2 separate regions of the Homo sapiens genome follow, and region 2 is linked to region 1. The links are contacts of gene promoters, found by promoter capture Hi-C in blood cells and fetal thymus (Javierre and others, 2016). All regions are on one chromosome and are shown on one strand. Each heading gives the region's core, a stretch centred on a gene start or on the middle of the fragment in contact. The rest is flanking DNA. Distances are from core to core; before and after follow the strand shown.

Region 1 (4,987 bases), core at 461-2,960:
ATGCTATGGTGGTGCATTTATTCGTGAGTACAAATTAAGACTCATTAAAATTTGTTTAGCTACCTACAGATAGAGAACTGCTTATTATTACTGTTATTATTTAAAACCATGACCACCGGGAAAATATCAATATGAAGAGAGAAGTTCTATAACAATTTCAACAGTTTCTAAGCCAAATATGCTTTCTGATTTATTAATTCCTTATCCTCACCATTTTTTCCTTATCTTCATGCGGGATTTTAACTAGAAATTGGTATAAAATTTGTTATATTGGCATAGTTCGAAAAACAATCACTGTGTACCTACTCTCTCTCAGGAACAGTGGAAGATGCTTGCGATACAAAGATAAACAAGCCCCTATACGAAGAACAAGAATGTTCCAGATGGATTCAATGTGGAAGGACATTCTAGGCAGGGGGAACAGCAAATGCAAATCCATGTGTCCTGGAATGAGCCAGACATGCTTCAGGTTCCATGGAGTTTTTTTTTTTTTTTTTTTTTTTTGGATTAAAAAATTTGGTGACTTTTCAAAGTTTGACAACCTCAGGATTAAACAATTTATCGAGCCCCTCTGCCATCTCACTCTCCATGAGGGCAGTCCAGGTTGAGACTCAGATACAAATCACCTTTATTGAGTTCTGCTGGGATGGACAGGTCACTTCATGTATACGTAGATCCTCTCCTTAATTCTATTTAAATCACTTAGGTGACTATCACCATCTCCCATCAGGGTTCGGTGACCTGCCCACAGCCTCCCAAGTAGAAAATGATCCAGGGAGCATGTGAGTTAATGATACATCACATCTGGAGCCAGGCAGGCATTTCATGGGTGGGGATGAAGATCTTCCCTCCAATTTCAGAAGTCTGACCTTGCAGGTTCTGAAGTAACTATATACATAAATATTTATAAGGAGAACCCTTTAAGCAGAGGGGTGACCATTTATCCATGAGAGATGGCTTAGGAACGGATTTGGGTTTTGGAGAGCTTCTCTAGCTCCTCCAGCTCCGCAGCCTGTCACACGCAGGATGACCTTTTAGAACAACTGAGTGCTCCATTACACTCCTCACTTGCGGATTCAAACTGTCTCTGGGCAGGGTCCCAGTTTTGCCTGTCCAGGGACACTGTGCACTTGGGTTGACTTTGGTAAATGTTTGAGTAAGGGATGAGTGAATAAATTCGGGGAGAGGGGTTGTTGAGGGAAGGCCACCCCTGGCTCTAAAGACTTTCCAGGGTTTATGGGGTGGCCACGCCTGTCCTGGATCCCCATGGTGCCTCTGGATGGGCCATTTCATCCTTCCTCCCTGTGGCCTCCACATCTTACAACCCAGCCTGGAGGGAGGGGCCGCGCAGCCCCGAGGGGCCAGGTCTCCCAGGCGGCGTCCACTCCCCTCGAGGGTGGAGGAGGTAGGTGGGGACCCCGGGCCGGCGGGGCTCGGCTGGGGCCCCTTCCCTGAGGTCTGCAGCCGCAGCCCTCTACCTGGCTCCCCGGCCGCCCCTTCGCGGCCCCAGATCGGGCGCACCCGGCGGGCACCTGGCCCGCCGCCCCCCGGGGGCCCCGCCAGCTGCTCCCGAAGCCGGCCCGGGGTGGCGGGGCGGGCCCGAGCGCTAGTCGACTCTGGGACCGGTCCCCCGGGGCGCGGCCGGGCAGCAGCCCCCGCCTCCCCGCCCCGGGGGCCGGGCCGGGCTCCCGGGGGGCGGGGACTCGCCCAGTGGCAGCAGCGTCCGGGCCGGCGGCGGGCGCCGGGCGGCTTCCTGCAGGCGGCGCCGGGGCGAGCCGTTGCCGGCTGCAGCCACCGCCGCCGGGTCGCCGGGTCGCGGGGGCCGCGGCGCTCGGGCCGCGTCCGTGCCTCCCGGGCGCGCTGCGCGGCCGTCGCTGCTGCCCGCGCTCGTGCCGCCGCCGCCGCCGCCGCCGCTGCTGCCGGTTACGCCAGCCCCGCCGCCGCCCGCTCTGATTCTGCGCATAGGCAGCCCCCAAGCCTGTCATTCTGCAAAAACACAGTTTACTCAACACACCACACACACTCGCACACACACGCGCGCACACACACGCGCACACCGGACCCCGCGCGCACACGCACGGAGGGCGCGAGCGAGCAGACGCGCACACCGGCGAGCCAAGTTCCGCAGCCTGGCATGGCTTCTGGGGACCTTTACGAGGTACGGGGACGCGGGGGCGCGGGCCGGCCCCAGTCAGCGGGCGGCGGCGGGCGGCGGCGGCGGGCGGCGGGGACCGGGCCGGGGCCGGGGCCGGGCGCAATCCGGAGTTGCCGAGCCCGCGGCGGCGGCGGCGGCGGCCGGAGGGTGGCGGGGGCCGGGCGCGCCTCCCGCCCGCCGCCCGCCGCCCGCCGCCTCCCGCGGCGCCCGCGCCCGCTCCCTCTTTCTCTTTCTCTCGCACACACACTCTCTTACTCCATCTACTTTGCGGCCTTGGAGGGGAAGGAGGAAGCCGGGCGGAGCCGGGGCGGGGGAGGTAGCGGTCCCGGGGAGGTGTTTCTCGCCCGACGAGCCGCCTCGAGTACAGAAAGTACAGGTAAAAGTCGGCGCCGGACGTGCTGGGAATGCGGGGGGGCGCGCCGCGGCCGGCGGGGGTGTGGGGCGGGGGTTGCGCGGCCCGGCTGGGCCGGGGGCGCGGGGGAGGAGGGGGGCGGGCGATCGGAGCGGAGCCTGGCCGGGGCGAGGCGGGGTCCCGGGGGGCTGCGAAGGGGGAGGCTGGGTGGGGGTTCGGGGGGACAACCGCCAAACCGCTCCCCGGGGTCCCCGGGCCACCTCCCTCACCCCCCACCTGCTGCCCCCGCACCAGCTCGGACGCCCTCCGGGCTCGGGCGTGGGGGTGGCCCTTGCGGGTGTCGTGCTCCCTGGGGGCGAAAGGGGGCGCTGCGGAGGGCCCTGGGTGGGAGGAGAACGTGGAAGTCTGAGGTGTTGGGGACATAGGACACAGATGCCAGCCCAGCGCCCAGTACTCTCGTCACCCTCAGTGGATACCTGGCTCCAGGTCCTAATGAGTAGTGGCCAGCGTTGGATACTCTCATGTCTTCCCAAAAGTGGCGAAGGAAGACATTAGTCTGGCATCTTTCAAACAATGGAGGAACACCCATGGTCTTTGGGGAGCAAGGGCTTAGGAACACAACTGTTACTGCTTTGGGTTTTCCACAAGTGGACAACACAAGGAACAGCCAGCCACCACTCCCCAGAGGGAATGGCCTCAGAGGTGTTGGCCGCCAAGACCAGGTTCAGGATAAAGAAGTTAAGAGACCAGCCATCTTCAACCAGAGGGCCTTCTGGGCCTCCGTGAAACCAGCCGCATGGGTTAGCCTGGACCTGCACTTCCCGGAACATAAATTGGTTAACGCCATCTGGTTCTTAAGGCTTTGGGGCTCCATTGAGATAAGCACCCAGAAGGGGTAGAATTAGCCTTTTGCATAAGACATTGTAGGGTGATCCACCCACGACAGACTGCAGGGGGTGATTCCTAAGAAGCTCTTTCCTCTAGGCCCTCGTGGGCAGTTGAAGCTTTTTCAGGTGGTGGGTTTGCTGACTGGCGTTAGAGAAGAAGAATGGAGAAAGGAGCACAGGTCTCCTGTGTGACCATGTTCTTGTGAATGATTCTGGAGTTGGTGAGGCCCAGGCCTGGACTGCCGGCCAGCAGGTTCAGGTGGGGTGGGTGGGAGACCTTAGAGCTCCTTGAAAGAATGGTGTATGTTGCCCTCTTCACTACCCTGTGGCCGTCCTCATCTCTATGCTAAGAGACAAGGTGAAGTTGGATAGAGATCTTGTGAAGAACTTCGGCAAATGTGGCCAATGGATCACCCAAGCGCCTTGGTCTGTTTCAAGATGGTGGAACAATTTCTGAAATTGAAAATTGAAGCACAGTAAAATAGAAGGTTTGATTGAGTTTCCTTATGTGTAACCAGTACTGTGGGGACATTGGCTAAAAGTAGATATTGTTTAGGGGTGAAAGTGATCTGGTTGGAATCATGGTTTTCTACGAATTGAGGTTGAGTCAGCTTAGAGCTGTTGACCTTGCCTGAGTGAAAAGTTGTGTCTTGAAGGTGTTAAGAGGATGTACTAGGAGTCATCAGTATTTCCCCATTTAAAGTTTAGAACTTATGAACCTTCTGGGGATAATTTCTTGTTTAATGTTCATCTGCAACTGCCCTCCTTAACGCTGGTAATTGTCGTTGCCAGATTAGTCTGTTAAGAGGAGAGTTTTCACGGTGGCCTTGGAACTATCTTAGTATCTCAAGAGTTTTTATAGAATTTCAGTTAAGGAGGACAATAATAATAATTACTTCTGTGATAGTAGGTAATTGTACTAGATGGAAAATGGCTTTCCCATGGCTGATTATTTGCATAGTCATTACTAAAAGGGCTAAATTGCATTACGAGAATATAACGAATGTCAACATTTTTATAGCCTGTGTCTACATTACATAACATATACTGAGAAATTTAATTTATTGTTCAAATTTAGCTTTAAGAACAATTAAGAAGTGCTAAGTGTACATTAGCATATATATTTCTGACTGTAAAGTTGTTATGTGGGTAAAAAGTAGCATATTGATTTAAGAAAAATATTGGAATATCCAGTGTATGTTGACTGGCCTTGAAAGGAAAAAAAGAAAACAGATTTCATTCTAAATTATGAGACCTGTTTATTACTTTCATTAAATATTATACTAAAGTGTACATAAAATGGCTTCTCGCAATCTCTACTCAAGAAACCACGTTTTTAGTGGGCCAAGAGTTCTTACGTTTGTAATTGATATATTTCACCTGTGTGTCTGCTGACATTATCTTTGAGCCTTTATGGTGAAGTGTGATTTGGATTGTAGAGATTCTTCATCTTTTCTTTGGCATTTCAGACAATTAAGTTGTAAAGAGTGAACCTCCATAAAGCAGTTGTTAGGAATAGGTGCTGATTTTTAAAGACACCAGAAAACGAAAACTTTGTTTATGTAATAGCACTCTTCAATCATAGTGAAGAAA
Region 2 (4,816 bases), core at 410-2,909, 290 kb after region 1:
CCATCAAATTAGCTGCTTCAGCCAGGCGTGGTGGCTCATGCCTGTAATCCCAGCACTTTGGGAGGCTCAGGCGGGCAAATCACTTGAGGTCAGGAGTTCGAGACCAGTCTGGCCAACATGGTGAAACCCCTCTCTACTAAAAATATCAAAATTAGCTGGGAGTGGTGGTGAGCGCCTGTAATTCCAGTTACTCAGGAGGCTGAGGCAGGAGAATTGCTGAACTTGGGAGGCGGAGGTTGCAGTGAGCTGACATGGCGCCACTACATTCCAGCCTGGGCGACAGAGCAAGACTCTGTCTCAGAAAAACAAACAAACAAACAAACAAAAAAACAGAAAAGAAAAAGATTAGCAAATTAGCCGTCTCTAATTTGTTCTGGATCTGGAAGCCAGATAATGAAACTTGTTAGAATAACAAATGGGCTGTGAATGAGAGGCTGAGGTGCTGTCCTATGAATATAGTGTTTATATATTAATTCATGAACTGGGTTACCCCTTGCCCACCTCTCTCAACTCACTCCTTTTTGAGATATATATTTGAGGCCTTAAGCTTAGTTCTGGGTAGGCTTCTAACACATCACCTTGTTTCTGTCTCAAGACCTTTTCATTTTCTCTTCCCTCTGTCTAGAGTGCTGAATAACAAGAAAGGTCATCAAAGACATGATGAAATATTTTTAGATATTTTTAAGACAAGCCCCAAAAGTGTCTCTCTTACTTACATCCTATTGGCCACATGGTTCTAATCTAACTCCAAGGGAATCTGGGAAATGTAGTTTTTTGTGTACCCCAAAAGAAGAAACACATAGCACTACCTCTGCGATGTGATCCTTGGCGGCCAGTCTCACAAGGGTTCATTTTTGACCAACGCCAATAGAGTTCAAGAGAATCTCTTCCTTGAAGGAATAGTTCTCTATCATCTCCAAGTTTTAGCGCCACCCACACAACACTATAGCCACGCACATGAAGGGAATATGTTCCGAAAAGGAGCTAAATCAACTAGCTAGTGCATCTTCACCCTTTGATGTGGGAGACTTGTGTTCATTTCCCTAGGGCACCCTTAACATCTTGCACCACTACGTGTAACCCCTACGGAATCCAGACATTAATAGTTCTTTGGGCAATTCACAATCAAATGAATAGCCAAGTTATAGTAAATAGGGAGAAAGTAGAAATCCTTCTAAGTCAAAGGGAGTGTAGGCCATTACTATGTTATAGAAGGAATTTCAGGACAGAGGGATGAACTGTTCCTCAACCCCAGAGCAGTTATAATAGTTAACACTGGCCATGTGCTCACTGTGAGCCATGCCTTGTGTGAACATATTCCACAAATTACTTTACAATTCCTACAACAAACATCTGAGGGAGTATTCTTATTCCCATTCTACAGATGAATACATTGAGACCTCCGGAGGTCAAGTGACATTCTGAAGTCATGTGATAGTGAATGGTGGTGTGTAATTCCAACCCAGCTGTCTGAGTCCAGAGCCAATATGTTACACTCTAATGACTCTGGACCCTGTGAAGTTAAATTCAGAAACCTGAGATTGTGCTGCTCCTCAAACTAGGATTGATGTCATCCTATGAAATAAAGAGCAAGTTTGGGACTCCTGCCTAATGACCCTGTGGAACTGATCAGTGTCACATGATCCTAATCATGTACAGCAGAGACACACATGTACATATATAATCTCAATGCTCTAAAGTCAGGTGTGCCATTGGGCAGTACACAATCAATTGTCAAACACATGGCACTAGCAATTGAGTGTTAAGCTGTCTCTACAAGGTATAAATAAGAATGTGGAAAGAAAGAAGTTTGCTAGATACAGGATGCCAGCTGTAATTTCAAGAAAATGTTGATTGCATGTTTTAGGAACTATTCCACAAAGCCTTGCTCCAGTACAGATTTTCCTTGTAAGGTAGCATGAAAAAAAGAGAGAGAAATTTTTATTTTTATTTGGTGTTTATTGTTTCTTCGTCAGCAGCTGTGCCGATGTGGTGTTGATTATGCAGAGAAGAATTATTTTGATTATTGACAGTTGGCATTCTTCTCATAATTTGGAGTTCTTCATCTCAGAATTGTTTCCTCACCTCCTCTCCTGTCTGCACATGAATAAAAATTTAAACGCACTTGCCAGGATTCTTACCCAAGGCAGCTGTTAGGAGGACTGTAGTTGAAAGTTCAGATGCAATTTGATGTAAACCTCTCCCTGCCGTTTGTTCCTTTCTGTGAGCCTGACTTCAGAGCAATGGAGCTTGCATGGTTCATCACCAGCATCTGAAAGGCCTCCCCACAAAGAAAAAGCTATGCTCTGTGTTATGGCTTCATCCCCCTGCAACCTTATCTGCTGGCTGTGTGCCCCTCTCTCCCAGCAGCGTTCATTCGGAAATGTACTTCAACGGGTTACCCGTCAGGGTTGGCTCACACGAATACTCTGTGCTACTTTCTGTATTTTTTTCTTAGAAAAAAGACTGCTTAGAAAAACAAAAACAAAAGTGATCTATAGATCCCCTTTCAGGTGATTTTCTTTTGCCTTTTTTTCTTTTCTTTTTCTTTTAAGACAGGGTCTCACTCTGTTGCCCAGGCTGGAGTGTAGTGGCAAAATCACGGCTCACTGCAGCCTTGAACTCCTGGGTTCAAGCGATCCTTCAGGTGATTTTTTAAGTGGTATATGTAACAGAGTTCTTTGGCTCCTTGTCTTGCATCTCCTTGATCTAATTCTCTTTCAACTTCAGGTGAGACACACCTCAAATGACAGAATCCCACATCAAGCTTTCTCTCCTGGGGAGTTAACCCCCCTGGGGCTAACCCTTCACAAAGGCGGGATGGAAGCCAGTGGAAAAGTACCCAGCTTTTCCTCCTTTACCTACTGTTCAGAGATCCCAGAAGAATCAAACCCTGGTGTCTGCAGCAGTGAGCCTGTGTGTTTCCTTATCTCGGCTTTTCCTCCTTCTCTGGATCATCTCCCAAACAAGCAAATCATGCATCTAAGTCCTTGTACTTAGGCTCTGCTTCTGGGGAGACGCAAAATAAAACAGTTAAAAAAAATTTCCCCCGAGTTAATTTGCTTTTGCTTTCTCCTTTCCCAGATCTTATCTATTTTTATTGTTTTGGAGTAAGTATGAAAATGTATTCTTTTGGCTGGGCGCAGTGGCTCACGCCTGTAATCCCAGCACTTTGGGAGGCTGAGGCGGGTGGATCATCTGAGGATGGGAGTTTGAGACCAGCTTGGCCAATGTGGTGAAACCCCATCTCTACTAAAAATACAAAAATTAGCCAGGCATTGTGGTGCATGCCTGTAATCTCAGCTACTCGGGAGGCTGAGGCAGGAGAATCGCTTGAGCTCAGGAGGCGGAGGTTGCAGGGAGCCGAGATCGCGCCACCGTGCTCCAGCCTGGGTGACAGAATGAGACTCTGACTCTAAAAAAAAAAAAAAAAAAAAAAGAAAATGTATCTTAAAAAAAAATAGGGGTAATATAGGTACATCAACTATAAACATATATACATACATATATATTCTATGTTAAAGAATAAAATATATAATGAACATATTTATTTTTAACATGAAAACTGTCTCTTTGTAGAGACAGTACATTATGGGCAGTACTCTGTCATGGGTCAGACAGACCTGTCATGGAGGAGTGGCTCCGTGGTATCCTAAGCTAGTGAACTTGAGACAGTTATTCACCCTCCCTAGGCCTTAGTTCTGTGTCCCCTGTAAGACAGAGGAAGCATTTTTATGGGATTGTGATGCGTATTAATTGACAGTGTGCATGTAGCTTGCTAGCCTGGTGCTGAGCATTTAGCAAGCACCTAGCACATTTCAGTGATTTACATAAAAAACGAAAGTCTCCAGTAAGGCACACATACCCCGTACTCTGTGTGGGAGGAGGAGGGGATAGAAAACCACTGAGTCTGCTGTGTATCCTTCTAGAATTTTTCTGTGTTTATACACACATTCTTTAAAAGTGCATATGTATATGTTGTTTCATATAGTTTACTTTCTCTTTTATGCGTGTGGGACCATAGTATACATACTCTTCTGCAAGTTGACATTTGTTTTAAACAGATAACACATTGTGGACATTCTCCTGGATCAGAATATATGCATTTATTGCATTAAAAAAATGGCTGCATGGTCTTCCTCTGCATGAATGAATCCATTTGTGATGGTTAATTGTATGTGTCAACTTAATTGGGCCACGGGGTTTGACATTTGGTCAGCATTATTCTGGATGCTTCCGGGAGGGTGTTTTTGGATGAGTTGAACATTTACATTGATAGACTGAGTAAAGCAGGTTGCCCCAATGTGGGTGGGCCTCATCCAATCAGTTGAAGGCCTGAATAGAACAAAATAGCTGAGAAAATGTCCTCCTGCCTGACTGCATGAAGCTGGGACATCAGTGTTTTCCTGCCTTTGGCTTGAACGGAAGCCTGGGCTCTTGAACTGAAACATTGGGTTTTGAGCCTGCTGATGTTTGGACTGGAAATACGCTATCAGCTCCTCGTTCTTAGGCCTTAGGACTGGGACTGGAACTAAACCCTTGGCTTTCCTGGTCCTCTAGTGTGATAACTGCAGATCTTGGGACTTGTCAGTGTCTATAATTGCATGAACCAATTCCTTATAATAAATACTTCCCACCCTATACACACACACACACTATATATATATATATATATATATATATATATATGCATATTGTATATATACAAATATAAATATATACTGTATATGTATATCTATATATACACACACACACATATATTTTGTGTGTACATATATACACACTATATATAGGTTCTATTGGTTCTGTTTCTCTG

The links. The method cuts DNA at HindIII sites, captures the fragments that hold promoters and counts their contacts. A CHiCAGO score of 5 or more calls a contact.
Region 2: a fragment that was not itself captured here is called in contact with the fragment with the promoter of CDYL2 in region 1 in 8 of 17 cell types (M2 macrophages, M0 macrophages, naive CD8 T cells and 5 more); the score reaches 8.4 in M2 macrophages.

What each region holds. Positions count from the first base shown.
Region 1 is chr16:80,801,321-80,806,307 of GRCh38, reverse strand. It overlaps CDYL2 (chromodomain Y like 2), which reads left to right and starts at 1,710. Exons shown (of 7, transcript NM_152342.4): 1 at 1,710-2,158. The coding sequence starts at 2,135. RefSeq lists silencers at 1,430-1,489, 1,510-1,819, 2,430-2,499, 2,780-2,929. The HindIII fragment of the contact is 3,614 bases long and covers 1-3,513 here.
Region 2 is chr16:80,511,520-80,516,335 of GRCh38, reverse strand. The region is part of intron 2 of DYNLRB2-AS1 (DYNLRB2 antisense RNA 1); the gene reads left to right. Among named protein-coding and RNA genes, the nearest start is that of DYNLRB2, 27 kb to the left of the region's middle. The HindIII fragment of the contact is 2,220 bases long and covers 550-2,769 here.